Linked DNA regions of Homo sapiens: all the other regions are linked to region 1. The links are contacts of gene promoters, found by promoter capture Hi-C in blood cells and fetal thymus (Javierre and others, 2016). All regions are on one chromosome and are shown on one strand. Each heading gives the region's core, a stretch centred on a gene start or on the middle of the fragment in contact. The rest is flanking DNA. Distances are from core to core; before and after follow the strand shown.

The links. Contacts are between HindIII fragments. The CHiCAGO score rates a contact against its expected background, and 5 or more counts as called.
Region 2: a contact is called between a fragment that was not itself captured here and the fragment with the promoter of LHX4 in region 1, in 8 of 17 cell types (endothelial precursors, M0 macrophages, M2 macrophages and 5 more). The highest score is 8.4, in endothelial precursors.
Region 3: a contact is called between a fragment that was not itself captured here and the fragment with the promoter of LHX4 in region 1, in 4 of 17 cell types (M1 macrophages, M2 macrophages, M0 macrophages and 1 more). The highest score is 6.7, in M1 macrophages.
Region 4: a contact is called between a fragment that was not itself captured here and the fragment with the promoter of LHX4 in region 1, in 4 of 17 cell types (neutrophils, M0 macrophages, monocytes and 1 more). The highest score is 7.0, in neutrophils.
Region 5: a fragment that was not itself captured here is called in contact with the fragment with the promoter of LHX4 in region 1 in 2 of 17 cell types (neutrophils and M2 macrophages); the score reaches 6.7 in neutrophils.
Region 6: a contact is called between a fragment that was not itself captured here and the fragment with the promoter of LHX4 in region 1, in 1 of 17 cell types (neutrophils). The highest score is 5.3, in neutrophils.

The regions. Positions count from the first base shown.
Region 1 is chr1:180,227,640-180,232,718 of GRCh38, forward strand. It overlaps LHX4 (LIM homeobox 4), which reads left to right and starts at 2,625. Exons shown (of 6, transcript NM_033343.4): 1 at 2,625-2,966. The coding sequence starts at 2,891. RefSeq lists a silencer at 2,066-2,195. The HindIII fragment of the contact is 8,200 bases long and covers 1-5,079 here.
Region 2 is chr1:180,474,108-180,479,186 of GRCh38, forward strand. The region is part of intron 3 of ACBD6 (acyl-CoA binding domain containing 6); the gene reads right to left. Among named protein-coding and RNA genes, the nearest start is that of ACBD6, 26 kb to the right of the region's middle. The HindIII fragment of the contact is 1,459 bases long and covers 2,242-3,700 here.
Region 3 is chr1:180,447,991-180,453,069 of GRCh38, forward strand. The region is part of intron 3 of ACBD6 (acyl-CoA binding domain containing 6); the gene reads right to left. Among named protein-coding and RNA genes, the nearest start is that of MIR3121, 12 kb to the left of the region's middle. The HindIII fragment of the contact is 171 bases long and covers 2,922-3,092 here.
Region 4 is chr1:180,431,823-180,436,901 of GRCh38, forward strand. The region is part of intron 3 of ACBD6 (acyl-CoA binding domain containing 6); the gene reads right to left. It also overlaps the pseudogene VDAC1P4. Among named protein-coding and RNA genes, the nearest start is that of MIR3121, 4.0 kb to the right of the region's middle. The HindIII fragment of the contact is 1,147 bases long and covers 1,635-2,781 here.
Region 5 is chr1:180,400,640-180,405,718 of GRCh38, forward strand. The region is part of intron 5 of ACBD6 (acyl-CoA binding domain containing 6); the gene reads right to left. Among named protein-coding and RNA genes, the nearest start is that of MIR3121, 35 kb to the right of the region's middle. The HindIII fragment of the contact is 7,851 bases long and covers 1-5,079 here.
Region 6 is chr1:180,361,979-180,367,057 of GRCh38, forward strand. The region is part of intron 6 of ACBD6 (acyl-CoA binding domain containing 6); the gene reads right to left. Among named protein-coding and RNA genes, the nearest start is that of MIR3121, 74 kb to the right of the region's middle. The HindIII fragment of the contact is 2,097 bases long and covers 1,471-3,567 here.

The DNA of each region.
Region 1 (5,079 bases), core at 1,375-3,874:
TTCTTTTTTCACATTTCCTAATAAATCTCAAACCCTTTTCTACATTAAATATTCTTCTGTTGTATTATTTCTAAGACTTCATAACATTCCATTTTACTTAATAATTTACTGTAACTTATTTACTATCCCCTATTGTTGGATATTTAGGTTTTCCCTTTTAAAAACCTTATAAACATCCTTGTAACTACATCTTCACAAACATTCTTGATTATTTTCTTTGGATAAATTTCTATAGAGATTGGGTCAAATGCATCACATTTGTAGCCAAAACGTCCTGAGAAGACATTTCCCCTCTTTGCAATCCCCACTAGGAAATTGTTTTCTAATTTCCCCACAGCCTAACCAACAATGGGTATTATCATTGCCCTTACATTTGACTAAGATTTTTACATATTTATAATCCTATGCTATTGCATTGTGCTTTTAAAAAAAATAGTATTTCACAAGCATCCCCATGTTATTGGGTTTCATAATTGGTTTCCATGATTCCATAACATACTACCAAACAATTTAATCTACTTCCCTAAGCCACTTTTCTTTTGTTGGCTATTTAGGTTATTTTTCTCCAAAACATAATACTGTAATAAACATTTTCACGCATGAAACTTTTATAAAAAATTCTAGATTATTTCCGTGGAACAGACATTCAAAAGTACTACATAAACTAAAGGGTATGAAAAATTTATGAGTTTGATACATATTGCCAAATTTCTTTCCAAACGGATGTTAAGAGTTTATAAGCACCCAGCAGTATTGGTGAGTGTCCAAGCCCCTTTCGCCAGTCCTGAACTCTAGGATGCCCCTCCCGCGCGTCGGGCATCTCACAAACAGAAAAAGCTGTGCACGTGTTGTTTTGTCTTGCGTGTTTTTCACTGCAAATGAGGCTGGCGTTTCCCCGTGTTTGCTTACTAGTTATATTTCTATAGAACACATTTTGGTAAACACTAAAAATGTCACTGGGTTCTTTTGCTTTTTTCTTCTTGTGTATATTGTCTCGCGCGCGGAGTCACCTCGCAGGTAAACAAGGGAAGAGATGATGCCAACCCAGTACCAGGACACACAAAAGTCACTGTGACCTCATTGGAGACAAATTCTAAGCAGCGCAGACGACCAGGCCATTCTCCCCCGCCCCATGCTCCTCCCTTAAAGGTGAGCAGGTGTCCCTTGTTTGGAGATGACACCAGGGGAAACAGCAGGGAAGGTTCTGGAAGGCTGGGGAGGGCACACAGTCCCCCTTCCCGCCTAAGCTGAACCCCACTAGGCTGGAAGGACACGTATGTCTGCATTTCTGGAAGGAAATGCCGTGGGGGCTGGGGGCAGGAGAGCGGCTGGGTCTTGGGGCAGACGGGGTGGGCTTCCCGCGCCTGCAGCCCGGAGGCGTCGAGCGCCTGATGGAGCGTCAGAGGAGACCTCGTCCCAGCGTTGGGCCTTCTGTTGTATTTCTGCCAGAAACTCGCGTTGAGGAGAATTTGTTTTAAGCGTTTCTCTACCTGTCCATGCATCTCGTAAATACAGTAAGCATGGCAAGCCCTTTCGCTGGTTAACCCCGGCGTCCGTGTGCTCACTGCCGCCCTGCACGCACGAGGTCGCGGATGGTTCAAAGCACCCGCGGTGGCAGCCGGAGAGGCAGAGCGGGCTCTAGGGACCTAAGACAGGGCCGAGCTGGACGACTGGTGGCAGGGCGGCCGGGGAGGCCCCGCCGCGGGGAGGTTTGGGCCCCCTACCCTGCGGAACTGGAGGCAAGTGCGGACTCCGGCTGCAGGCCGCGGTCTGCGGGGACGCGCGCGGGGGGCCTGCGTCCCGCCACCTCCGCGCACAGCCCCTGGTCCCCTTCCCCAGCCCGGGCCGGCGCCGCCCGCCGCGTGACTCGCGCGTTCCGGGCCGAGTACGGGCTGTCCCTTGGCCCAGCCTCAGCCAGACGCGGGGGAGAGAGAGCAGGGGCTGGGAAGTGCCGGCAGGAAAGGAATTGGCCAGGGGAAAGAGGAGGAGGAAGATAGATGGAGTCATCGGTTACGGAGCGCGCTCCGTCCGGCGGAGCGAAGCCGGGGACCGAGAGCGCGCAAGGCGAAGACACAGCGACGCAGCCCCGTCCCCGGCCTCCGGACCGCCTGCCCCGCTCGGCCCCGGCTCGGCTCCGCCCCGCCCCTGGGTCCGAACGGAGGAGTGAGGAGGACACGAGCCGCGCGGGCTTGGAACCCACGAAGACCCGCAAACCCAGGGCGCCGCCGTCTCCGACCACCTGCTGCCGCGGCAGGCCATCAGCAGAATTTATACCCAGGGCGCGAGCCCGCCACGGCTGGGCGGAGGCGGAGGCGGAGGCGGGGAGGGGGGGGGGGTGCCGGCTTGCGAGGCCCCGCCCCGCTCCCTGCCGCCCCGCCCCCCTCCGCCCCGCCGGCCTCACTCGGGGCGCCGGGACCCCCACTCCCTCCGGGGTCGGCTGCCCGCCGCCGGGTTGGGGGATGTGCCGAAGGGCGGGCCTCCCTGCGGAAAGCGACGTCACGGCCGCTCCTGCAGTGTGAATGAATCAAAACGCCCGGGTGACCGCGGCCTCCCGGGCGGCCGGCACGCGAAGGGTGGAGGGGGAGGGGGAAGGAGCGGGCGGGGGAGGGAAGAGGAAAAAAGCCAGAGCTGCAGCAACAGCGTCTCAACCTGGGATGTGCACCAACCCCGGAGAGCGAGATCAAAGGGACTGGAAACAGACTGGGGACTGGCGGGGGGAGGGGGCCGGCCAGCCTGTGGAGTCCTCCCTGAGAAGCGGAGGGCCCGGCTTCCACCGTGACTCCAGCGGCCTGCTTGGGGTTTTAATTATTATTTTGAAATTTCTGAATCGAGCTAGAGCGAGAGAGCGAGAGATCTCCGTAGACTGCGACTCGCTGGCTTTCGCTCCGAGATGATGCAGAGTGCGACTGTCCCCGCGGAAGGGGCTGTCAAGGGGCTCCCGGAGATGCTAGGTGTGCCGATGCAACGTAAGACACCCCCCTTTCTCGCTGATTTAATTCTAACAAGACAGCTAGCAGCCTCAGCCGCTGCGGGGCGGGCCGGACGCCGCTCAGGGGCCGGGAGGGGCTGGCGGCCGGGGCGCAGAGGCGGTCACAGGGCAGGGGCACCAGCCAGAGTGCGTTTGAGGGGGCCAGGCTCTTGGCTGTTTGGGGCCGAATGTGAACGCCTCCTGGATCATGCTTGAGGCGAGCCGAGTACCGAACCCCGCATCTCCAGCCCAAGGCTTTTCTTGGAACGCTGGGGAGAGTGCTGTTTGGGGACACCCAGGGGTACGAGCTGTAGGCCAGGCCTGAGGGCGAGGGTGGTCCCCACAAATCTTCTTTCGCCGGCGTGACGGTCAGCGCTTGCAGGACCGCTAGTGCAACTTCACCCCAGCTGGCGGGAAGTTGGAGAGCGCGTCTCTCGCCCCTGGGGCTGGCGGCGGAGAAGCCCCGGCCACACTCTTAGTCCCTGCGGCCCGCGCCCCGGGCGTGCGTGCCGGGTGAGTCCCCAGCCGCTACTGCCCGCGGCGCCCGCCGCGTGCGCCGCGGGAAACTGACTGCTCCTTGTGAGGGAATCTGCTCGCGCATTCCAGCTAGCCTAGGAATGCAGGGGAGGGAGAAGCGACCGCAAGTTGTGAATTCCGGGTTCAGCCTTTGCGCACGCGAGGGCAGGTGCTCAGGGTGGCTCGGGTTTGGAGGGGTAGAGACGGGGGTGTGTGGGAGCTTTGCTAGCCTGCCCGCCCGCTTTCTTCCCGCGCCCGAAATTAGCGAGACAGCCGGAGCTCGCGGCGTGTTTATCCCCAAGTCTCTCTCTGTGTGTATGGGTGTGCGCGCGCAGAGATTTTCCCGAAGGGAATCCGTCTCTGTGCTTCACTCCTGAGCGAGAGTCCCCGAGAGGGAATCTGTGCAGAGGCCAGAACAGGTGCCCAGTCGTCGCGCGCGCGCGCGCGCGCGCGCGACAAGCGCCGGGAGAGTCCTGCCCCTGTGGCTTGCACGCTCAGCAGGGCGCCCCGGGCACCCTGGAGAGACCAAGGAGTTCCTCGCTCCGCTTGCCAAGGGGTTGTACTTCCGCCTGCGACTTCTTTAGTGGTGCGGTAGCTACATCTTCGGGGTTTACTTTAAGTAAGGGCCGGCTCATCCAGGGATGGTGACTACCTACAAACTAGGGCGCACGAGCGCGCCCTCCTGCGCCTCGGGTTTCCATGGCAGGGTTTCTGTCCGGCGATCCTTCGGAGGGCAGGCGTACCGTAGGCTTCCCTGGGAAGTTTTTGAGAAGGGACTAGAAAAGAATAGCTTCATCCAAGCCTATTTAGATTGTTTCTTGGCTGTATTCTACAGTTATTCTTTGAGTGTTTTCGTGTCAACTGCCGGCAATCAGTTCCACGTCTGTGTTGAGCCTTGGGGAGTTTACCGCTAAGATGTTTTCATAGAAGGCATTGGAGATTCACTACGCCCCACACCCCGCACACAGGCAGGGACAGAGTGGGTTCTCAGCCCCTGCAAAGACGGAAACAGAAACCCTGCAAAGGTGCACCGAGTCCTTAAGCTGCTTGTAGCTCTGCGCGAGTGAGGAGACTGCATGAGTGGGGGAAGGGTGTGTGTGTGTTACTAGTGTCCTTGGTACCCAGTACGTCTGTGCTTTCATGGCTGTGGTCCGTAGGTGACCTGTCTGTTGGGACCCCAATGAAGGACGATGGTCTCTGCTCTGACGGCCTTTCTTGTGATGAGTGACACTCTGATTGTCTCACTTTTTGCCTTCCCTGTTCAGAGACAACTTTGATGTTCGACGTCAGGGAGTCGCTTTGCTAAAATGCCCAGAACTCACCTTCAGAGCTACAGTTTGCCAAGGCTGAGTCTAGGTTCACACTGTGGAAAACTTGAGGTGTACAAAGGAACTTCCACACCCACCCCCCCAGGGTGGCCCAGGGAGGCAATGTCTAATCTAGAGGGGGTGGTCAGTCCTCCCTTTGTCCGAGTTTCGTGACCTTGGTTGGAGGAGGCATCGGCCAAAATTGAGGGGCCCACTCCCTGAAGACTTCTGGATCCAGCTTTTATTTCCTCTTGGAATGTGAATGGATTGTAGCCTCCCTTGCAGCAC
Region 2 (5,079 bases), core at 1,721-4,220, 250 kb after region 1:
ACTGAATTAAAGACCACTTTTCTATTCATTTACAATTTCCAATTTATTCATAATTCTGCTAATATTCACTTATACGCAGGGAGAAATACAAGAAGAGATAGCACTATGTTGTCAAGGTAGCACAGAAAGCTATAAAGCCATCCTGAAACACATCTGGAGTATATTGCTCTTTAAAAAGTTATAAAATGAGAGGTATATTAGAATAGCTTAAATATAGGTGAAATTCATACTTGCTTTTAAAAGGGTATGCAGCCCTAGAAAAGAGCACCAGCCTCCAATAAAATATGGCCAAATAGCTGATATTTAAAGAAATACAACATAAAACATAAAATATATCTGAAAAGCTAAAAAAAAAAATCTTCTAAAATGTGTAATGTCATGTGGAGAAAATAATTCAGGTATCTAAGTTAAGCAAGCCTAGGCCTGAAATTTTGCTTTTGGACATTCTGGCTATGGGCTGGGTTACTTAACCTCTCTGATCCTTAGCTTCCTCATCTGTAAGAGGGGAATTATTTTCTCTACAAGACTGTTAAAAGGACTAATTGAGACTAATAGAATCTTTCTGGCTTTTTACCTAAAAACTTTTTAGCTATCGAATATATTAGAATAGAAATAATACATTCATTAAGTCTGTGTTATATAATTTCACCTACTTTTGTACCAGTGTATTTTTAAAACAAATGGAGAATAAAAAAATATCCTCCTTCACTGGATTTCAAATCCAAATCAACAGACTTTCAGGATCTACATTTAAAATGATCCAGTGTTGTCTCCCTATAATTTACTGTCCAACTGGGACATTTTCTACATGTCCCTTTCAGGGATTCTTTCAGGCTTTTTGTGGAGAGGAAAGGAGTTGAAGTTAACATGTATATAGAAAAATGTACATATTTTAAGTGGGTTTTCACAAACTGAATAAATATGAAATCAACACCCAGATTTAAAAATCCATTAAGCCAGCATCCAGATCAAGAAATAGAATATTACCAGCATTCAAACTGAGATAGTTTTGACAGTGAAAGGTGGTGTTATTTTAACAGCCTAAATGAAATATAATTGACATATAATAACTGTGCATATTTAAATTGTACAGTTTGATGAGTTTTGACGTATATTGGTGAAACCACTGCCACAGTCGAGATGATGAACATATATATCCACCATCTCGGAAAGTTTCCTTGTGTCCCTTTTGTAATCCCTGCTGTTTATTCCTACTTTGTATCCCCGGGCAACCACTGATCTGGTTTCTGTCACTGTAGTTTGCATTTTCTAGAATTTTATTTATTTATTTATTTTTGACATGGGGTCCCACTCTGTGGCCCAGGCTGGAGTGCCATGGCATGATCAGAGTTCACTATAGCCTCAACCTCCTGGGCTCAAGCGATCCTCCCATCTCAACCTCCTGAGTAACTGGGACCACAGGTGTAAACCACCACACTCAGCTAATTTTTTATTTTTGTAGAGATGAGGTCTTGCTGTATTGCCCAGGCTGGTCTTGAACTCTTATGCTCAAGCAGTCCTCCCATCCTGGCCTCCCGAAGTGCTGGGATTACAGGCATGAGCCACCATGTTATGTATACCAATAGTTTGGTCCTATTTAGTATTCCATTCTGTAGATACACCATAATTTGTTTAGCCTTCTCCTGTTGATGGAAATTTTGGTTTCCAGTTTGGGGTTATTATAAATAAAGCGACTATGAACATTCATGTAAAAAAATAAAGTAAAATGACCTAGTGTTTACCATATGATGGAAAATGCTATAACACCTAGAAAGAGTTGGTGGGGCACTTTTCATTTTCCCTTTTACTTAAATCAACAACATGGATTATTAAGAGTTTCACTAAATTTGTTATTGAATATATTAAAATTCAACCTAAGGAAAAACGGGACAACTGGAAGATAACATTTATCATGTCTAGGCACTCAGGTATATATTATGGCTAGGGGAAAATAGCAAAACAAACAACTATCACATACCAAAATCTGAATCTGGTTCCAATGCAACCCAATCCCACCAATACCAATGAAAAGACTAGAAGTTTATCCCCAGGTAAAATCATTTGAGATCTCTGATGCAAAACTATGGTGTTATTTAAAGATGGAATGTGAAGCCAAAAAGCATTCACACGTTCTGTTTAAGTTATATTATTAACTCATTTATGCCGGAGGTTGAAAATTTTTTTTGTGAAAATCAGACCTTGGCAATGACCTTGAGCAGTAGGATGTAAATAACTCCCACAAGCTTTGCATTCCAATAATGGAACACTAGGCATAAATGGGTTAAATTTTTTTTTTTTAAAAAAAGAATGAAGTTGTCACTCAAAGGTTTTTGCCTATGCACACATATAGGCTAATACAATGCTTCTTTTCCTCAACTGACAAGTATCACAAAAGAAAATTTAAAAGTACAATTGGCAAATAAAACAAGAAAACTCAGCCGGGCACAGTGGCTCACGCCTATAATCCCAGCACTTTGGAAGGCCAAGGCAGGCGGATCACCTGAGGTCGGGAGTTTGAGACCAGCCTGGTCAACATGGTGAAACCCCGTCTCTACGAAAAATACAAAAATGAGCCGGGCGTGGTGGCGGGCACCTGTAATCCCAGCTACTCGGGAGGCTGAGGCAGGAGAATTGCTTGAACCCGGGAGACAGAGGTTGCAGTGAGCTGAGATCATGCCATTGCGCTCAGCCTGGGCAACAGAGTGAGACTCTGTCTCAAAAAAAGCACAAAAAACAAAAACAAACAAAAAAAACAAGAAAACTCAAAAACAACACAAGTACATGGATGGAAGAAATGTGAAAATATCCAATGAATATATCAGATTATATATCTATTAACCAGTTCCCCTCTGAAGCTAACCAAAACATTACACAATATAATGCTTTGTATAACATTATACCCCCTTATCCATGGGGTATGTATTCTAAGACCCCTAGTAGATGCCTGAAACTGTAGACACTACAGAGCCCTATATACACTATGTTTTTTCCTATACAGGAACAGGTAATGGATACATCTTGACAAAGGGATGTATGGAGTGGGACAGGAGAGATTTTATCACAACAGGGCATGCAATTTAAAACTTATCAATTGGTTACTTCTGGAATTTTCCACTTAATATTTTTGGACCACCGTTGACCTCAGGTGACTGAAACCCCTCAGAAAGCAAAACTATAGATCAGGGAGGACTGCTATACATTTTTAAACCACAAACAGGGACCACTAACAAACACATACACACATATAAGAGCATACACACAAGCATTAAGAATCCTACAGTTCCTAAATATTGCATAACTCTTTATAAAGTCAGTAGGATAGACCATTAAATGTTTTTAATAACACACCATGCTTTTCTGTACTGAAAATTACCTCTATATGGAGGTTAATAAATTTGGCCCAAAATATAATCAATCTCTGTTCCTAGTAACAAAACATGTCATAATAGAGTTTATCATTAGAACGAATTTTTTTTTCAGTAGAAAAAATAATCTCCTTATAATTTAAAAAACAGATAAAATGCAGTTCTAGTTCTTAATTCCCAACTAATACACACAGGTTACTTTTTTACTAAAATAAGTCAGAAATGTTTTATTAAAATCAGGAAAGAAACTATTTCTAGATTATTTCTTTTAGCTATAGCTTTAACATCATAATTCAATTAATCTACTAAAATGTGTAACTGTTGTATCTGCAAAAAGCTTATTCTGCTCTAATGCACAAATAAGAAGTCTTAAAAAAGTCTTCTGCAAGCTGGGCAAGGCAGTGTGCACCTGTAGTCCCAGCTACTTGGAAGGATGAGGCAGGAGGATAACTTGAGCCCAGGAGTTCAGGTCTAGCCTAGGCAACATAGTGAGACTCCATCTCTTTAAAAAAAAAAAATTCTTTTGCAAAAGAAAATTTTAGTTGCACAGGATACTAATTTTCTCTAAATTTTCTAATAAATTTAGATCACCATATGATGCTTATTTTTCTTAACTTACATGGATTGAATAAGAAAACAAAGTCATTTTTAATTCTAATCTATTATCCCAAAAGTACATCATTTTGGGATGTAAAGATAATAAGATTATCTTTATTGAAATTATTATAATTTTACATTAAAATGTATTTTTATTTATTAAGTACAGCTAAAAAATAATTTCTAATCTTATAGTTTTTATTGTGTGTCTATTAGAGAAATACACAAAATAAGCATAATTGAAGTGTATTTAGTTTCACAGAAAAATCAGTAACTTTAAACTGTGAAACACTGCCCTCTATAGTCCACTGAATTAAACAACAATTCAATTTATAATACTTAGAACAATACAACCTAGACAAGGAATTTTGGACTTTCTGCCTCGTTCCTGAAGCAAAATTTTCCCGCTCTATAAATCTCTCTTTTTTTTTTTTTTTGAGACGGAGTCATGCTGTGTCGCCCAGGCTGGAGTGCAATGGCACAATCTCGGCTCACTGCAACCTCTGCCTCCCAGGTTCAAGCAATTCTCCTGCCTCAGCCTCCCAAGTAGCTGGGATTACAGTACCACCATTGCTGGCTAATTTTTGTATTTTTAGTAGAGACGGGGTTTCACCATGTTGGTCAGGCTGGTCTCAAACTCCTGACCTCAGATGATCTGCCCACCTTGGCCTCCCAAAGTGCTGGGATTACAGGCATGAGTCACCACACCCAGCCTATAAATCCCTTTTTTAAAAAGAAGTTTATACTAGAGAAATGCCTATTTCAGATATCCATTTGGCTGGGCACAGTGGTTCACACCTGTAACACCAGCACTTTGAGAGGCCAAGGCAGGAGGATCACTTGAGCCCAGGTGTTCAAGACCAGCCCAGGCAACATGCAAGACCCCATCTCTACCAAAGAAAAAGAAAAAGAAAATTCGCTGGTGTGATGGCACACACCTGTAGTCCCAGCTACTCAGGACGCCAAGGTGGGAAGATCACTTGAGCCCAGGAGTTTGAGGCTGCAATGAGCTAGGATTGCACCACTGCACTCCAGCCTGGGCAACACAGCAAGACCTTGTCTCTAAAAACAAACAAAATATTCATCAATCTCATTTAAAGCCTCTTCTCTAAAGAAA
Region 3 (5,079 bases), core at 1,757-4,256, 220 kb after region 1:
GGGTTCTACTCACATACACCAATACTTGGGAAAATGCTTAACATCCCTTAATAATTTGCAAAATGCAAATTAAAGCAACAATGAACAATGAATTTTTAACTAGCTACATTAGAATAAATAAGGCAGTAAAATTACAGTGAAACAGGTACTAATAAGCTAATGGCCCTAATGGCCTTGTAAAATGGTATTAGTCTTTTGGAAAGTATATGGCAATCCTACCAAGACCCATACAAATATTAAGCACATATTAATTATTTTCACCAATAATATAACTTCTGGATATTATAAGAAAAAGATACAATCCTTAACTATTGCAACTTGGTATGAGATTCAACAACAATCTTTTTTGTTGGTCATCTTTACCTAAATTTAATGTTCTTAAATTTTTAAGACAGAAACATAGGTCAGGATAGATTTTTAGATCTCTATCTCCCTTTTCTATTGTTTTCATGAAGTGGTAAAAATTTTGGCCCCTAGGATACTTAGCTCTTGCCCCCTCTGGTTCTTCTTTTTCCTTTTGTCTTTATTGTCCTTGTTGTCCTACTTGATTTTGATTAAATTCCTAGTAGATTGCTCTTAGTATGAAGCTTTATACTGGAAGAAAGTTTTGGCTAGTTAATTTTAGAAGCTTAGAGCCCAGGCAGCTCTAGAGAACGTTACCATGAACCTCTTGTACTCAGCCATGAATTGAAGTGCATAAAAACCCCTTTTAGCTTTACCTGTTGGCTATTTTAGAAATCTGCCATTCTCAAGATAGTAAGGTACTCATAGGTACTCTACTGCTTCCTTCTGCTTCCTTCTAAAGAGATGCCAATGCCACACAAATCTGTTTTCTTTCATTTTTTTTAAAATATAAATCTGGTAGCTGTTGGTGGTTTGTCCCTATTTTCTCTAATCAACTAATTTTGTTACAGATATTGCTCAAGAGCTTTTGATTATGCTATCCTAGTTATTCTGTTAAGGAAGGAGGACTATTCAAAAACTATGCTACAGCCACTACCATCTTCCCAGAATTAAAATACCATAAATAATTTTTAATGTAACACATGAATAGGAATACACAAATAAATAGATTAGTATTGCTAAAGTTGGTATGTTTCCATTCCATTCTCTTTTCCATTATTTTTGTCTCCATGCAACTATCTTAGTTGCATGATTTCATGAAAGAGAGATTTAGAGACTGACAACACAAGTTCAGTGAACATCAGTTATTTGTAGCTTACCAAAGTATGAATACTATTTCAACATTTTAATAGTTTCCGAAATTGTGAATCCCAACTTCTAAAGCAGAATTCTCAAAATCTTATTTCTTAGACTTTCTTGAAGCTATGATTCATTATCTACATTCCATAAACTAAATGTGCAAGCAACCCATATGGATACAAAACGGAGCAACATATCACTGACCTACAACTCGCACTTTTTTTTTTTTTTTTTGAGACAGAGTCTCACTCTGTCACCCAGGCTGGAGTTCAGTGGTGTGATCTCAGCTCACTGTAACCTCCACCACAGGTTCAAGTGATTCTCCTGCCTCAGCCTCCTGAGTAGCTGGGATTACAGGTGCCCGCCACCACACCCGGCTAGTTTTTGTATTTTCAGTAGCGACAAGGTTTCACCATGTTGGCCAGGCTGGTCTTGAACTCCTGACCTCAAGTGATCTGCCCTCCTCGGCCTCCCAAACCAAACACCGCATGTTCTCACTCATAGGTGGGAATTGAACAATGATAACACTTGGACACAGGGTGGGGAACATCACACACCGGGGCCTGTTGTAGGGTGGGGACAGGGGGAGGGATAGCATTAAGAGAAACACCTAATGCAAATGACAAGTTAATGGGTACAGCAAACCAACATGACACATGTTCACCTATGTAACAAACCTGCACATTGTGCACATGTACCCTAGAACTTAAATTAAAAAAAAAAAAACTTAAAAAAAAAAGCATGCTAATCTAATTTCCGGATGACAGGGTCAATGAAAGACAGTTGACACACTAGATGTCACATTCAGGACCCCCCCACCCCAAAAATCTTCAATGTGGGAATAAGATGTTGAATAAAATAAAATGAAATTTAATACGGGTACACATAAAGTATTGAACTTAGTACACAACAGACATTGCATAACAGAATGTATAAAAAAAGACAGGATTTTAGTTTACTGAAAGTTAAAGAATAATTAACATTGTAATGTGGTTGCAAGAAGTGTTAAGGTAATTTTAAGCCACAATCAGTGCAAGTATAGTGTTCTAAAGAGAGAAAAGTTCTATTCTGTAGTGGTCACACTATGCCTAAAACAGTCTGTTCAATTCCAAAGGCCATACTCTAAAAGAGGTGTTGAGAAACTGAAATTTGTTCACACAAGAATGACTGGGAAGGTAGTGGGACTTGATGGTGAAGAAGATGAAGAACAATTTTAGAAATCAGAAATATTTGGTCTGGAGATGAGGAGACTTAAAAGCTGCCTTAAAACTTCTGAAAGACTCGGCCGGGTGCAGTGGCCCATGCCTGTAATCCCAGCACTTTGGGAGGCCCAGGCAGGTGGATCACGAGGTCAGGAGATCGAGACCATCCTGGCTAACACAGTGAAACTCCGTCTCTACTAAAAAATACAAAAAAATTAGCCAGGCGTGGTGGCAGGCGCCTGTAGTCCCAGCTATTCGGGAGGCTGAGGCAGAAGAATGGCGTGAAACCAGGAGGTGGAACTTGCAGTGAGCCGAGATTGCGCCACTGCACTCCAGCCTGGGCGACAGTGAGACTCTGTCAAAAAAACAAAACAAACAAACAAAAAAAAACTTCTGAAAGACTCATATAAAAAACTGAACATCGTCTATGTGGGCCTAAAAAGCAAAAATATAACAGAGTAGAAAACAATAACGATACCAAAACAGTGAAATAAATTTTGGCTTAATATAAAAAGAAGCTTCTAACAACTGGAGTTCTTCAAAAATTGGGCCAATTTCTTCACAAATAGTAAATTTCCCTTCATTAAGAGTCTTCCAATAGAAGCTAAAAGACTGTATGCTAGAATAATCTGGAGACAGAAAATTAGTCTAAATAACCAATAAATTCATTCTAATAATGAGATTACAAGCTTACAACAAGAAAGGGAAATGTAACTTAAAAAAGATATACAAATGGCCAATGTGTACATTAAAAGGTGGTCAATATCATCAGTCATCAGGGAAATGCAAATTGAAATCACAACAAGATACCATTTCAGACCCACTAGGATGGCTACAATCAAAAAGGCAGAAAATAAATCAGAACCCTCATACACTGTTGACAGGACTATAAAATGTTGTAGCCATTTTAGAAGACAGTCCAATGGTTCTTCAAAGTTAAACACAGAATTACCATTCGATCCAGCAATTCCACTCCTGGATATATATCCATTAGAAATAAAGATATATGTACACACAAAAACTTGCACACAAATGTTCACAGCAACATTATTCAAAATAGCCAAAAGGTGGAAAGAACCCAAATGTCCAAAAAAAGATGAATGGATAAACAAAATGTGGCATATCCATACAATAGAATACTACTCATCCATAAAAAGGAATGAAGTATTGATACATGCTACAATGTGAAAGAACACCCTGAAAACATACTAATAAAAAAAGTCAGTCATAAAAGACTACATGTGATATTCCCCATTTGAAACCAGAATAGGCAAATCTATAGAAACAAAAACTAGATTAATGGTTGCTTAGGGCTGAGGGAAATGAGGAGACTGAAACTAAGAGCTAAAGGGTATGGAGTTTCTTTTTGAGGGGATGAAAATGTTCTAAGATGAATTGTAATGATGGTTGTACAACTTCATGAATATGCTAAAAACCACTGAATTGTACACTTAAATGGGAGAACACAGTGGGTGAATTTTAATGTCTCAATTTAAAAAGCAGAGAAAAATGAAAAAATGTGTTCAGTAAACTACATTTAAAAAAACTAGGAAAGACTATACTTTCAGGGGTCATTTCTATCTGAACAACCTGCTCCTGAATGACTAATGGGTAAATAATGAAATTAAGGCAGAAATAAACAAGTTCTTTGAAAACAGTGAGAACAAAGACACAACGTACCAAAATCTCTGGGACACAGCTAAAGCAGTGTTTAGAGGGAAATTTATAGCACTAAATGCCCACAGGAGAAAGCGGGTAAGATCTAAAATCGACACCCTAACATCACAATTAAAACAACTATGTGGGTGGCTCAGACCTGTAATCCCAGCACTTTGGGAGGCTGACGTGGGCAGATCACGAGGTCAAGAGATTGAGACCAGCCTGGCCAATATAGTGAAACCTCATCTCTACTAAAAATACAAAAATTACCTGGGCATGGTGGCACGTGCCAGTAGTCCCAGCTACTCGGGAGGCTGAGGCAGGAGAATCACTTGAAACCTAGGAGGCGAAGGTTGTGGTGAGCCGAGATCATGCCACTGTACTCCAGCCTGGGCAACAGAGTGAGACTCCATCTCAAAAAATTAAATAATAATAATAATAATAATAAAACCAACTAGAGAAGCAAGAGCAAACTAATTCAAAAGCTAGCAGAAGACAAGAAATAACTAAGATCAGAGCAGAACTGAAGGAGATAGAGACATGAAAAATCCTTCAAAAAATAAATGAATACAGGAGCTGATTTTTTGAAAAGATTAACAAAGTAGACTGCTAGCAAGACTAATAAAGAAGAAAAGAGAGAAGATTCAATAGACACAACAAAAAATGATAAAGGGGATATCACCACTGATCCTACAGAAATACAAGCTACTATCAGAGAATACTATAAACACCTCTACGCAAATAAACTAGAATATCTAGAAGAAATGGATAAATTCCTGGACGCATGCACCCTCCCAAGACTAAATCAGGAAGAAGTCGAATCCCTGAATAGACCAATAACAAGTTCTGAAATTGAGGCAGTAATTAATAGCCTACCAACCAAAAAAGGCCAGAACCAGACGGATTCACAGCTGACGAAATCTACCAGAGGTACAAAGAGGAGCTCATACCACTCCTTCTGAAACTACTCCAAACAAGAGAAAAAGAGGTAAACCTCCCTAACTCATTTTATGAG
Region 4 (5,079 bases), core at 958-3,457, 200 kb after region 1:
AAAAAGAATGACTCCTAGAAGGTAACATGGCGGAAAATCTAGGTGATACTGGGTTTCGCAATGACTTTTTACATGCAATATCAAAAGTATAATCCATGACAGGCCAGGTGCAATGGCTCACACCTATAATCCCTGCACTTTGGGAGGCTGAGGCAGGTGGATCTCTTGAAGCCAGGAGTTTGAGACCAGCCTGGCCAACATGGCAAAATACCACCTCTACTAAAAATGCAAAAAACTAGCCAGGCATGGTGGTGCGTGACTGTAGTACCAGCTACCTAGGAGGCTGAAGCACAAGAATTGCTTCAGCCTGGGATGCAGAAGCTGCAGTGAGCCAAGATCACGCCACTGCACTCCAGCCTGGCAATAGAGCAAGATTCTGTCTCAAAAAAAAAAAAAAATTTATAATCCATGAGAGAAAAAAATTGATTAGTAGGTCTTTATTAAAACTGAAAATTTCTGCTCTGTGAAAGATATTGTTCAGACAATGCAATGACCAGCCATAAACTGAAAGAAAATTTGCAAAACACTTATCTAATAAAAGACTGGTATCCAAAATATTCAAAGAATTCTTAAAACTCAACACTAAGAAAATAAGTTACCCAATGAAAAACGAGTAAAAGATCTAAATGGACAACTTACCAAAGAAGATACAGAGATAGCAAATAAGCGAGTGACAAGATGTTTAAACATCATGTCATTAAAGAAATGCAAATGAAAACAAAAATGAGAAACCACTACACACCTATTGGAATGGCTAAAATCCAATATGTCCTTAAATAGATTAATAAGCAAATGATACACCCATAAAATAGGATATTATTCAGCAACACAAAGAAATGAGCTATTCTAGGTTAACTAAGAAAAAAGAAGAGTCAAATAACTCAGAAATGAAAGTGGAGATGTTACAATTAATGCCACAGAAATACAAAGAATCATAAGAGATAACTATGAACAATTACATGCCAAAAAACTGGATAACCTAGAAGAAATGAATAAATTCCTGGAAACATACAATCTACCATGACTGAATCACGAAGAAATCAAAAATCTGACAGACCTATCACCAAGAAAGAGAGTGAATCAGTAATAAAAAAAAAAACTTCCCTACAAAGAAAAGCCCAGAACCAGATCACTTCACTGGAGAATTCTATCAAATATTTAAAGAAGAATTAACACCAATCCTCTTCATACATCAAAATAATTAAAGAAAAGGGAACACTTCTAACTCATTTTATGAGGTCTTATCCTCACATCAAAGCCAAAACTACTGCAAGAAAACTAAAACCAATATCCCTGATGAATATTAATCCAAAAAATCAACTAAATATTAATAAACTGAATTTAACATTACGTTAAAAGGATTATACATCATGATCAACTGGGATTTATTCCTGGAATGTAAAGATGGTTCAACATACAAAAATCAATCATATAACACAGCATATTAATACAATGAAGGACAAAACCCACATGATCATCTCAATTGATACAGAAAAAGCATCTGACAAAATTCAACATGTGTTCATGATAAAAACACTAAATAAACTAGGAATAGAATAAAACTACCTCAACACAATAAAGGCTATATATGAAAAGGCCACAGCTAACAACATACTCAGTGGTGGAAAACTGAAAGCTTTCTTTCTAAGATCAGGAACAAGGCAAGGATATCCATTCTCATCACTTCTTTTCAAGATGGTATCCAAGCCACAGCGATCAGACAAGAAATAAAAGGCATTTGTGGTGTTATGCTGTGTGTGTGTGTGTGTGTGTGTGTGTGTGTGTGTGTGTGTGTGTACAGAGAGAGAGCGAGAGTGAGAGAGTGCGCACAAAAGAGATTTGTTTTTGTCCATGGTTCCTGGTTTCTAACTCCTATTGCCCTTGTTACAGTCTTTCGTTACATAATTAGGTGTGTCAGGCCTCAGGAGCAAGCCTCAGGAAAGAGAATCTATGGGACTTTCTCCTGCCCTCCTTTTACCTGCCCCAGGTTACCCTTTCTGATTGTGGGTCACAATCCCGAGAGAGAGTCCTGCCCTATACCCTAGGGGAAGGAATACTGACATCATGAAACCCAAGAGGAATGGGTGCTGGGAGCCTGGGGATAGTGGAACACATGGAGGTTCCTGGAGGGTGGCATGCCCAGAGAGATCATGAAAGCGCCATGTCCCTTCCTCCATGCCTCACCCTACACATCTCCTTGTAAACCAAAAATAAAGTTCTAAGCCCTACAACCATCTGGATGAACCCCTCCTCTCAGCTAAGGTTTCTCCAAAGAAACCTGAAAAACTAGTTCAGGCCATGATGGGAAGTCGGGGTCTGGACATGCCTCATTATACTTTCCTCCCTTTAGCATTCAGGAACAACTGACCAGCATTAACATTAAAACAGAGATCTCACAACTGACAAAAAAGACTCTTTGTATCAATAAGATATCAAATTCCAACCTGACTCTAGTATAGCATCACATGACAGAGAGCAGACCCTGGAAGAAATCAAAATATCTTATCCCAAAATATATTTGACATATTTTGAAATGGCCCTGCAAAGCCATCTCTTAAAAGGGAAATTTTACATTATGTAAAGAATCCTGTTCCCTTTCCAGGTCTTTTTCTGATCCTAAAGAGATTAGCTGAGAGATCTGAAGAATCTTTTAAAGATCTGAATAGGAAACAATTGTCATCTATTGCATCTAACAGTGGCCACCTATGAGACTTCATCTATATAGTAAGAACCTTGGTCTCCACAAATCCTTAACTCAGATATTCCTTTCTATTAATTCCAAGCTTTTAGATAATAACTTAACTCTCAACCAACTGCCAATCAGAAAATCTTTGAATCTACCTATGATAAGTCACTGCTTCGAGTTGTCCTGTCTTTCCAAACCAAACCAATGTATTAATAAACTAGGAATAGAGTAAAACTACCTCAACAGGCCATAGCCGCAACCGAGCCTGCTGCCAATGCCTCTAAGCCGAAGGTGGCTGTGCCACCCACGAATGCCAATCTTGGCAAATCTGCCAGGGATGTCTTCACCAAGGGTTATGGATTTGGCTTGATTTGAAAACAAAATCTGAGAATGAATTGGAATTTACAAGCTCAGGCTCAGCCAACATTGAGACCACCAAAGTCATGGGCAGTCTGTAAACCAAGTACAGATGGACTGAGTACGGCCTGACGTTTACAGAGAAATGGAACACCGACAATACACTAGGCACCGAGATTACCGTGGAAGGTCAGCTTGCACATGATCTGAAGCTTACCTTCAATTCATCCTTCTCACCTAACACTGGGGAAAAAAAAGCTAAAATCAAGACAGGGTACAAGCAGAAGCACATTAACCTGGGCTGCGACACGGATTTCAACATCGCTGGCCTTTCCATCTGGGGTACTCTGGTGCTGGGTTACGAGGGCTGGCTGGCCGGCTACCAGATGCATTTTTTTTTTGAGACGGAGTCTTGCTCTGTCGCCCAGGTTGGAGTGCAGTGGCAGGATCTCAGCTCACTGCAAGCTCCGTCTCCTGGTTTCACGCCATTCTCCTGCCTCAGCCTCCCAAGTAACTGGGACTACAGGCGCCCGCCACCACGCCTGGCTAATTTTTTTTTTTTTTTTTTTAGTAGAGACGGGGTTTCACCGTTAGCCAGGATGGTCTCAATCTCCTGACCTCGTGATCCGCCCGCCTTGGCCTCCCAAAGTGCTGGGATTACAGGCATGAGCGACCATGCCCAGCCTGGATGAATTTTGAGACTGCAAAGTCCCGAGTAACCCAGAGCAACTTTGCAGTTGGCTACAAGACTTATGAATTCCAGCTTCACACTAATATGAATGACGGGACAGAGTTTGGCAGCTCCATTTACCAGAAGGTGAACAAGAAGTTAGAGACCGCTGTCAATCTCGCCTGGACAGCAGGAAACAGTAACACGCACTTCAGAATAGCAGCCAAGTATCAGATTGACTCTGACAGCTGCTTCTCGGCTAAAGTGAATAACTCCAGCCTGATGGGTTTAGGATACACTCAGACCCTAAAACCAGGTATCAAATTGACACTGTCAGCTCTTCTGGATGGCAAGAACGTCAATGGTGGTGGCCACAAGCTTGGTTTAGGCCTGGAATTTCAAGCATAAATGAATACTGTACAATTGTTTAATTTTAAACTATTTTGCAGCATAGCTACCTTCAGAATTTACTGTATCGTTTAATGTTGTACGTCTGGAATGCAAGTATTGCTAAATATGTTAGACCTCCAGGTTAAAGATGATTCAGCTTTAAGATGTTACCCTTTCAGAGGTACAGAAGAAAACCATTTCCAAAAAAGGTCCTTTCAGTGGTAGACTTGGGGGTAACTTGGTGGCCCCTTTGAGATATCAGGTTTCTTTTTTATCTAGAAATGGCTGCAAGTGGAAGCTGATAATATGTAGGCACTTTGTAAATTCATATTGAGTAAATGAAAGAAATTGTGATTTCCTGAGAATTGAACCTTGTTTATCTAACCCTAATTGATGAGAAGCTCACTACTTGATGGTGTGTACAAACTCACCTGAATGGGATTTTTTTTAGACATATCTTCATGACCTGTTCCCACCCCAGTTCATCGTCACCTCTTTTACACCAAAACGTCTGCAGAGTGGTGTGGTCACGATTCTTTTGTGCCATTTTGGGGTGGAGAGGGTGGACGTGATAAAGCCAATAATTCAGGACTTATTCCTTCTTGCGTTGTGTTTTTTTGCCCTTGCACCAGAGTATGAAATAGCTTCCAGGAGCTCCACCTATAAGCTTAGAAGTGTCTGTATGATTGTAATCACATGGTGACAACACTCAGAATCTAAATTGGACTTCTGTTGTATTCTCACCACTCAATTTGTTTTTTAGCAGTTTAATGGGTACATTTTAGAGTCTTCCATTTTGTGTGGAATTAGATCCTCCCCTTCAAATGCTGTAATTAACATCACTTTAAAAAAACCTGAATAAAATATTGAAACCTCAAAAAACAAAAACAAAAACAAAACTACCTCAAAATAATAAAGGCCATATATGAAAAGGCCACAGTTAACAACATACTCAGTGGTGAAAAACTGAAAGCTT
Region 5 (5,079 bases), core at 1,172-3,671, 170 kb after region 1:
GTGATACCTTTTACTTCTTCAAATTATAAAATTCCTATAAACATGCTCTAATTTAAGATTATTATTCACTCACTAACATAACCAGTAATTTGCAGAGATGCTATCCTTATAATTAATCATGATAAAATCAGGAAATAAACACCTGTGGTTTCTTTCCTTTCTCTTTGTTAACCACAAACACACCTAGACCACTACAATTATTAAACTATTTTAGGTAAAGAATTCCAAAATCTCTCCTCCAGAAGGAAAACCATGACTTAGGTGTGCATTAAAGCTATATCTTCTAAGACTTTATCTAAATTTATGAACTATTTTACATATTTGTCTATATAATTGTTTTATCTTTTTCCATGAGTGATATAATCTCTTATAAATTTTCAAGTTAAATTTATTTTTATTGCTACCAAAATAAGTGACAATTCTTTGTTTCTAATTTTTAAAACTCTTCTGGAAAAATATCCCAGAAGTATTCAGGAGATTGGTGAGGGAGAGCCATTATTAAAAGGAACCTTTGTTAGGCCACCAGAAGACCACGAACACTGGAGAGCCCTGAATAAATTCTGAAACTCAAATACAGTAAGATGCAGGGAGAAAAAGAGTTCTCATCTATTAACCAAGGGTGCTAACACTGTCCTACCTCAGACAGATGAATGACTCTAAAGTGCTTTGAAAGTGCAGGGTAGCAGCTAACCTATTAAGTGGTATTACTTTCATACCTTCTGGAAAATACAGAGAGCACATCTTAATATATGAAATGCTTCTCTGATTTCCTTAGTAACTCGTCCATAAACCATGTAGAATTTTTTTTTAATTAGACTTTTCTCCTCAATATCACAAAATTAAAAAAAAGAGAAGAGATTCTGGCCAGGCGCGGTGGCTTACATCTGTAATCCCAGCACTTTGGGAGTCCGAGGAGGGAAGATCACCTGAGGTGAGGAGTTCGCAACAAGCCTGGCCAACATGGTGAAATGCTGTCTCTACTAGAAATACAAAAAATTAGTGGGGTGTGGTGGTGCGCGTGCCTGTAATCCCAGCTACTTGGGAGGGTGAAGGCAGGAGAATCGCCTGAACCTGGGAGGTGGAGGTTGCAGTGAGATGAGATCGTGCCACTGTACTCCAGCATGGGCAACAGAGCAAAATTCTGTCCAGAAAAAAAAAAAAAAAATGGTAAGGGGAGGGGAGAGGAGGGAAGGAAGGAGATTCTATTATAAAATGAGTCTTGATGTTCTTATGATATTTTGAGATCAAATACAAAGTACATATACCATACGTATAACAGATAAAAACATGGCAAATTTGGTATATTTAAATTTGTAAGAGTTGTCCTGTCATTCTATCAAACACATATAGTATATGGTATGGTACTGTCTAATTAGCAAATGAAATACTGCAAACAGGTAGATCTGAATTTCTCTCTGCAAAAAAATTGGGTATCAATTTATAATTGTAGTAGAGCTTGACTTCAACTACCAACAACCTGTAATGTCCCCATCTCCTCTGTACTATCTTCTACCTTTTGCTGCTACTACTGTAGCAGCTGGCCATAGTGAGAACTCCCCTACCTGCAATCACCAGAAATTACACAATGCCTCCTTCTTTCACTTCCCTGTCCATAGTGAAATGACAATGTTATTTCAAGCACTTAGGAATAAGATTGAAAGATAGTCTAACATCTCAAGATTATACCTAGCATGGAAGCCAATGACTGCTTGTGGGATAATTTACTTACGAGCATTATAAAGAAAATCACACACCAGTATGTGTGATACACACTTAAAATCAGCAACTACTGGATCTTGATCTCTTTCACTGGCAAAGATCTAGGGTAGGGGAAAATGGTGTTGCTTATTTGTCAGGAAATTGAGAAAGATTTTGAATACACTACTTTAAAAAATCTGGCTGGGTGCGGTGGCTCATGCCCATAGTCCCAGTATTTTGGAAGGCCAAAGCGGGCAAGTATGAGACCAGCCTGGGGAACATGGTGAAACCCCATCTCTACAAAAATTAGCTGGACATGGTGGCACACTTCTGTAGTCCCAGCTACTCAGGAGGCTCGGCTCAACAGGAGAATCACTTAAGCCCATGAAGTCATGGCTGCAGTGAGCCGTGATCGACGTCACTGTACTCCAGCCTACGCAACACAGTGACACTCTGTCTCAAAAGAAAAAAAAAAAAATCCCTTCACAAGAAATTACTAAGCTATAATGTCAGTGACTTAAGGGTGAAGGAATATGAAAGGGAGGTATTATTTCATCCTGTATAAAGGAGGTAATTAACAGCAATAATAATAGGAAGTTGCCATGAAAACAGCCCAGGTATCCATCATAAGACAATGGTATATTCACATGATGGAACATATTCAGCAGTATAAAAGAAGGAAGTACTGAACTATAGCAATATGGATGAGTCTCAAAAACATTATGCTGAATGAAAGATGCCCTACACAGAGGAGTACATATGTATAATCCCATATATATAAAGTTCGAGAACAAGCAGAACTTATCTATGGTAGAATAATATCAAAACGGTGGTTACCTTTTTGGGATTAAAAGAAAACAGTGGCTGGGAAGGGGCATGAGGAAACTTTCTGGGGCGACAGCAATGTTCTATATCTTGATAGGCACTTCAGTTACACAGGTATATGTATTTGTCAAAGTTCATCAAATGTGTACTTAAGACTTGTGCATTTCATTGTATATAAATATTATTTTAAAAGAAAAACCAAATACTGAATTCTAGTTAGTTATACGCATGTTAAAATATTTAGAAGAAAGTGTACTGTTGTCTGTGTACTCCAAAATGTATCAAAAAATAAAAAAGATTTGATGAATGTCTAGATATTGATAAAGCAAGCATAGTAAAATATTAATGGTAGAATCGAGATGGTAGAAATACGGATGTTCATTGTAAAATTCAACTTCTCTGTATGTTTAACATTTTTCATAATAGATTCTTGGGGAAAAAAAATCAAACAAAAATTTGTACACCTATGTTCAGAGCATAATTCACAACAGTCAAAAGGTAAGAGCAAACCAAGGTGTCCATCAATGGATATCTGAATAAACAAAATGTGGTATATGCATACAATGGAATATTATTCATCTTACAAAGCAAGGAAACTGACACATGCTACAACATGAACGAACCTTGAAGACGTTACACTGAGTGAAATAAGCCAGTCAAAAGGGACAAATATTGTTATGACTCCACTTAAATGAAGTACCTGGAGTAGTCAAATTCAGAGACAGAAAATAGAATGGTAGTTGCCAGGGGCCAGGGGAAGGGAGGAATGGGGGGTGTTTAATGGGTACAGAGTTTCTTTTTTTTTTGAGACAAAGTCTCACTCTGTCACCCAGGCTGGAGTGCAGTGGTGCGATCTCAGCTCACTGCAACCTCCACCTCCTGGGTTCAAGAGATTCTCCTGCCTCAGTCTCCCGAGTAGCTGGGATTACAGAAGTGCAGCACCACGCCTGACTAATTTTTGTATTTTCAGTAGAAACGGGGTTTCACCATGTTGGCCAAGCTGGTCTCAAACTCCTGACCTCAGGTGATCTGCCCACCTCAGCCTCCCAAAGTGCTGAGATTAAGGCATCAGCTACCACACCTGGCTTGGTACAGAGTTTCAATTGGGGAAGATAAAAAAGTTGTATGGTGGTGGTGGTTACACATGTGAATGTATTGTTTTATTTATTCATTTTTTATCACGAGACGGGATCTCACTATGTTGCTCAGCCTAGTCTTAAACTCCTGCGCTCAAGAATTCCTTGTGCCTGAAAGCATGAGCCACTACACTTGGCTCATGTGAAAAAAATATATATATACATATGTGTATTTTTGAGACAGAGTCTCACTTTGTCGCCCAGGCTGGAGTCCAGTGGCACGATCTCAGCTCATTGCAACCTCTGCCTCCTGGGTTCAAGTGATTCTCTTGCCTCAGCCTCCCAAGCAGCTGGGACTACAGGCATGTGCCACCATGCTCAGCTAATTTTTGTATTTTTAGTAGAGATGGGGTTTCACTATGTTGGCCAGGCTGGTTTTGAACTCCTGACCTCAGGTGATCCACCTGCCTTGGCCTCCCAAAGTGCTAGGATGACAAGCGTGAGCCACAGCACCTGGCCTCATGTGAGCATATTTAATGACAGAGAACTGTAGATTTAAAAATGATTAAAATGATACATTTTATGTATATTTTACCACAATTAAAAAATACCCAAAATAAGTTGCCAAAGCTCATAGGATTTAAGCTACTTTCACTATTTTCTGATTTTGTATTAAATCTAAGTTTCTGATGCAACACATGACCATAGACTTGATTTTTAAATGGCACTGCCTACATGAATGCAAATAAGCGTAATAGACAATTTGTAACGCATTTCTCAGTCATTAGTGTGAATAAAGTTCCTTCAAATTAACATCTTAATCAACTATATAACCAAAATAATATATACCCTGATATAGAAAGTGATTTAAGAGGATGCATTTTTTCTTCCTTCCTTTCTCAAATCTCATATAACTGCATAAATTTAGTCTCAGTATACCGACCCTGCCTCTTAAATCTTTTGCTTTTCTGTTACTTAGTACTGTCACAGTTTCACCAGAGTTTGCAGCAGTTTCTCAAGCCAAAAGCATGCAAATTGTATTGTTAGGAGCCACAGATTTAAAACAAAGTAGAAAAGGAAACGAATGGTAGTCAAGAGAAAGGTGACTTTCTTCAAAGTATCTGAAAGAATCAATAGACTACGGAAAATGGCTAATGACAACAATTATACTGTCAAAAGGACAGAAAAGGAAAGAATGTAACTAAAGAAGCAGCCCAGTGAAAGTGGAATTTGGGAGTGCATTAGATAAGAATCTATGGAAAACCAATGAACTATGTATGAATGCTTTTGGGGGGACTGATGATAAACAGGTGCACTGGATGGTCATCTATTTTGCTAAAATATTACACTGTTACATTTGATCTAAAACATTTAAATTACTTCAAAGATTTAAAATACTATTTAAATACTATCAATAAGCATGTATTTAGTGTTGATTGTATAGTACACTAATCTGAGAAATAACGTGTGACAAGAATTA
Region 6 (5,079 bases), core at 1,269-3,768, 130 kb after region 1:
GAACTTTTAAAAAATGAGAATCTATTCTGAGATAGACACGTGACTATCTATAAATGAAGGTGGTTCCTCTCCTGAATCATCACCTTAATAGAAATATCTTTAATCATACTAAAATGAGAGAAATGTACATTATCCATTCCCTAGCTCCCCACACCAAATGAAGAGAAAGAGAGGGAGAGAGGGACAAAAGAAACTGTGCTAAGGGCAAAATACTTAGTATTTTCAAATGGAATAATGAATAATTAAGTTATATCAACTATTCTTTTATTACGTGCATTTAAAAAGTACTTTTAGCTCACAACAGGGCCAGATGGTATGAGATTCAACAATGACATAGTTCTACAGGGAAATCCTCAGGCTGCTAGTGCCACTTTACTAACTGCTATGTTTTGAGTCCACCCTATGACCACAGCTGCTCCAGAGGGAGACCAAATGCCAACTGACAAAAGAAGGTGAAACAGGATGGGAAAAAAAAGATGACTGTTTTGTCATGTAACAATCAGCTATCCCTATACCTTAAATAAATATGCTTTAATAATTAGAATTCATATTCAAGTGCTAGTATGTTCTTTTATGGAAACCCCAGCTTTACTACTTAAGTTCCTAATGCATTCACTATTAATCATTCTATCCTTCATACATAGAGAGATGTAGTTTTTCTTTCTTAGCTGTTGGCAATGACAACTCAGAAGCTCCAGATAAAATTCTGAGTTGTTAGGCCTTAAAAGTTGAGATGGTTCAAAGTCACCAAATCTATCAACACTGGTAAAAATACTACTAATTTTAAAAAGACAAACTAATAAGCAACCAAAGGGAAAAGAAGCTAAACATGGAAGGAAGTATATTTAGAAAAGCGATTATGTAATGAATATTTAATCATTACAAAGAGCCTGCCATTGGCTTAACTTCATCACTGTTGGCATAGAACCTATGCTAATCCCAAATCCCAACACTCAGGTGACTAGAGAAGTTGAGAAACTTTAATATTCTCTTTGCTGGGATGCAGGGATTCTCACTCTGAATTCTTGCATTCCTAGGATAGCCAAGGGCGGGCTCTGGCAAATGTATTAACTTATTAACATATTTTGCAAAAATTTAACATGTAGGTCCTTTTTCTCTGGTGTTCATAACTTTCCTCATATTCTTCCTAAAATGGTTAAAGACCACTGTTGTGAGATAGCAGTACAGATTAAACAGGATTGGCCACAAATTGGTAATTGCTGAAACTAGATATTCTCTTTATTTTTGTACCTCGTTGAAGTTTTTGTAATTAAAAGGTTATTTTTAAAACGATTGTGAGGAAAGAATTCATTATGTACAAAATAAATTTTGATAGAGGACTGTGGAATTATCTAAGTGAACTAATGTGAATAATAATTCTATTTTTCCTTATGAGCTAAGTGAAAATGAAATAAAAGTTTTGTAATTTACAAGTGTAGAAAACAAAAGTATGGAAATTTTTCATGTCAAAGCTTTCAGTGAGGCAAGTTAGTTTACTTTTGAGTTCCTTATTTTGTTTTACGAAATGTTAAAAGTTGATGAAAAAGCAGGAAAAAAGGAGAGAAAATGTAACGGGCAAAGCAAAGACTGCAAAGACAGTGGTGGTTTGGTCCTTGGGAGGGAGGACTGAAAGGAATGAAGTGATGGGTCTAATCAAATCACTTAAAAAAGCAGCAGCTTCTCAGAGTTAACCTTGCCAATCAGAGTAAGCAGGAGCAGGAGCAGGAGCAGGAGCAGGAGCGGGAGCATGCTTGTGCACATTAAACTTCACATGTGTCCTTGAACCTATGGTGCACTTCCTCCTCCCACAGCAGCCAGGGAAGGCTTTGTAATGCTCATCCTTAGAGAGAACCTTGAATTCCATTAGAAAGCTCCACAAAATGGAGAAACCCTCAAGTGGCAGCTTGAACCACATAGACAGCTCATACCCTTTACTGATATTAGAAGTAAGCTCATGGGATTAAGTCGGCAAGTACTAGAAAATTAAAAAGTATGAACACACTGACAAATGCCATGATACCAACAAGAATACAAGATGTGTCTAAGCCTTTTTTCCTGCTTTTTCTTTACCTTTTTAAAAAAAGGGATGGCAAATATTTAAAACAATGCTACAATAAAGACTGGGCACTAAGTCTACAAAGAAACTCTATAACTTGTCTGGCTAATATTGGGCTAATATAATATCTACATCTATACAGTGATTTGCTATAAAACCATTCACTTATTGATGGCCTAGCACATTTTACAAATAAGCTACACTTTAAGAGGAACAGTAAAGGCAGACACCTTGCCTTTGATGTCACATCTATTAAGTTACAGCTCTACTCTGTTCCCTACCAGTGATAAGACATCTTATATAATGTACATTTTTAGTGTTACATGTTTAAAAAGGGACATTGATTCAGTAATGAGCCACTAGGTTGGTGAAACTAGTCTGGAGAAGACTTAGGAAGAAAATGTCTACTGTCTTCAAATAACAGAACGGTTGACACCTGGAAGGGAGGAGATACAACTTTTCTTCATAGTTTTAAGAGTCAGAACTAAAACGAGAGTGAGTTATAGGTAAGCAGACATAGATTTAACAGGTAGGAGAAATTTCTAATAATTAGCACTTTCTGAAACAGAATAGGCTATTTTGTGAAGTAAACAGAAATCTTCAGACAGGCTAGCTGGCTTAACCATCTTTTGGAAATTTAGTGGAGAGGAGTCCTGCATTAGGTGGGAGTTGAACCAGATGATCTTTAAATTCCTTTCTATCTTTTTTTTTTTTTTTGAGATGGAGTCTTGCTCTGTCGCCCTGGCTGGAGTACAGTAGCGCGATCTTGGCTCACTGCAACCTCTGCCTCCTGGGTTCAAGTGATTCTCCTGCCTCAGCCTCCCGAGTAGCTGGGACTATAGGCGTGTGCCACAACGCCTGGCTAATTTTCTGTAGTTTTAATAGAGACAGGGTTTCGCCGTGTTAGCTAGGATGGTCTCAATCTTCTGACCTCGTGATCCGCCCACCTTGGCCTCCCAAAGTGCTGGGATTACGGGCATGAGCCACCGCGCCTGGCCAATTCCTACTTTTAAGATTTTACAATTATTATTTATTCAAGGTCATAGTTAGTGGCAGAATAGAAATTGGAATTCAGGTAACGTGACTCCAAACACAGTCTTTCCAAACACAAGGTTATAAACTCCTCAAAAGTCTTCAGGCAAAAATATAAAAGACTGAGGTCAACTGGGTCAGGGAAACTGAAGAGTTCAAAGCCTGTCAACAGAGGGCAGTAGGTACTCAGCTCTAGTTGATAGAAGAACGTGCCCACGATTGCCATATTTGCAGATTTTTCAAGAGAAGTCTAAAATCTGTACTTTTATATGAAATTAACTGACAGTTAATTATAAATAAATTGTGGACTAACACTACAGGTGTCAAACAAAAACAGATCTATGGGCTGCACATGACTTATACTGTTTTGTGACCATGAGACTTTACTCAAAAACTCCATTTCCAAACTACTGATTTTAAAAAATCCTTCTCTGGAGTCTTCAAATTTATCAACATCCTTTTTGAAATACAAAAATCTAAGCTTTATGTTTTATATTAATTACATCCTAATAATTGCTATGTATATAACAGTACTTTGCCCTGGCCTTTATAGATTATATTCCTATTACTGTAATGGCAGCAGTAAATTTGCTTTGTAAGAGCAACACTACATTGCCATCTCATTGTTTACCTACGGTCCACAATAGCCGTCAAATTTTCTACTGATGATATTTGTGCATAAACAATCTCTATACATGTATACATGCATATGGTCCATAAGTATATTTAAATATGCTCCATATTCTATAATTATTTCACGGAAAAATTACTTTTCTTTGAAGAGTCTTTTTTTTCTTATCTTTTTCCCATCTTTCAGGCATTAATCACTCTGAGTATATCAGTTTGATCAAAAGCAATATTGACCATTTCTAGAACTTACTCTGTTTACTTAGTATAACTAAGCAAATTGCTTGGTCTCATTTGCAAGCATTTTGTTATTCTGTGTAATTCCTTCATCATTAATTGGTTCTTATAATGTTACATTTAAAAGAACATTTAAAATTTAGCAACACTAGGCATAGCCAAATATATTTTATAACATGCACATACTTATTTAAATAGTACATCTCAGAAACCATCAATGAGCCACCAGTTCAACATTCAAACAAGTTAGTTCTTTTAAGGCAGATGATTAACTAATTTCCTGAATTCAATGAGGAAGAATTGCCTGACATTTTAAAAATTGAAAGAATTACAGAATTAATTCAATTCTGAGGGTACCATCAACTTTAGACTACAAAATGTTATGATTCAGTTGTAGGTAGCTTAGACATTTAGAAACCTTTATGGTGAAGACGGTAGGTTTTCCTGGGGATAAAAACTAATTCTTTTGTTTTCAAGCTTACAATAGTGCAAAATGTCAACAATTTCTGGTTAATAGCAGTACCAAGAGAGAATGTAGCCAGGGGACCATTAAGAAGGAGCAATTTACTATAGCAGGTCATAACACTTTGACAGTGTCCTATAATTCAGTTAGATGTAAAAATAAGATGACACTGGGTGTTCTCTGAACTCAGAGTAATTTGAACTTGATTCACACTGTACTGTGAGCCAGCTGTTCATTCTCAGATATAAACTTAGCAAAGGAAGTGACTATTCAATATAAAAATGACAGAGAAATAACTGATTAAACAAAATTGTGAATAGGAATATGGGTTAAAAGTTACACTGAAAGGAAAAGCCTGATGAATAAAATGTCATCTACATATATGAATTTCATTATATATAATATAGAAGATATGAGGAACTTATTACTATATCCTCATAAAATGCATCCGATAGCTATGAATTCTAGAAGCACTGAGTCAGTATGATAAACTATGACGGCAACACAATGCAGGAAAAAAAGGGTGGAATCTGCAGTGAAAATACCAGGGGGCTGTGAACCCTGGTTATACCACTTACTAGCTTTGTGTCCTCAAGCAATTCACATAACCTCTCTGAGCTTTAGTTTCCTCAACTGTAAAATGAAGATAATGCTACACAGATTC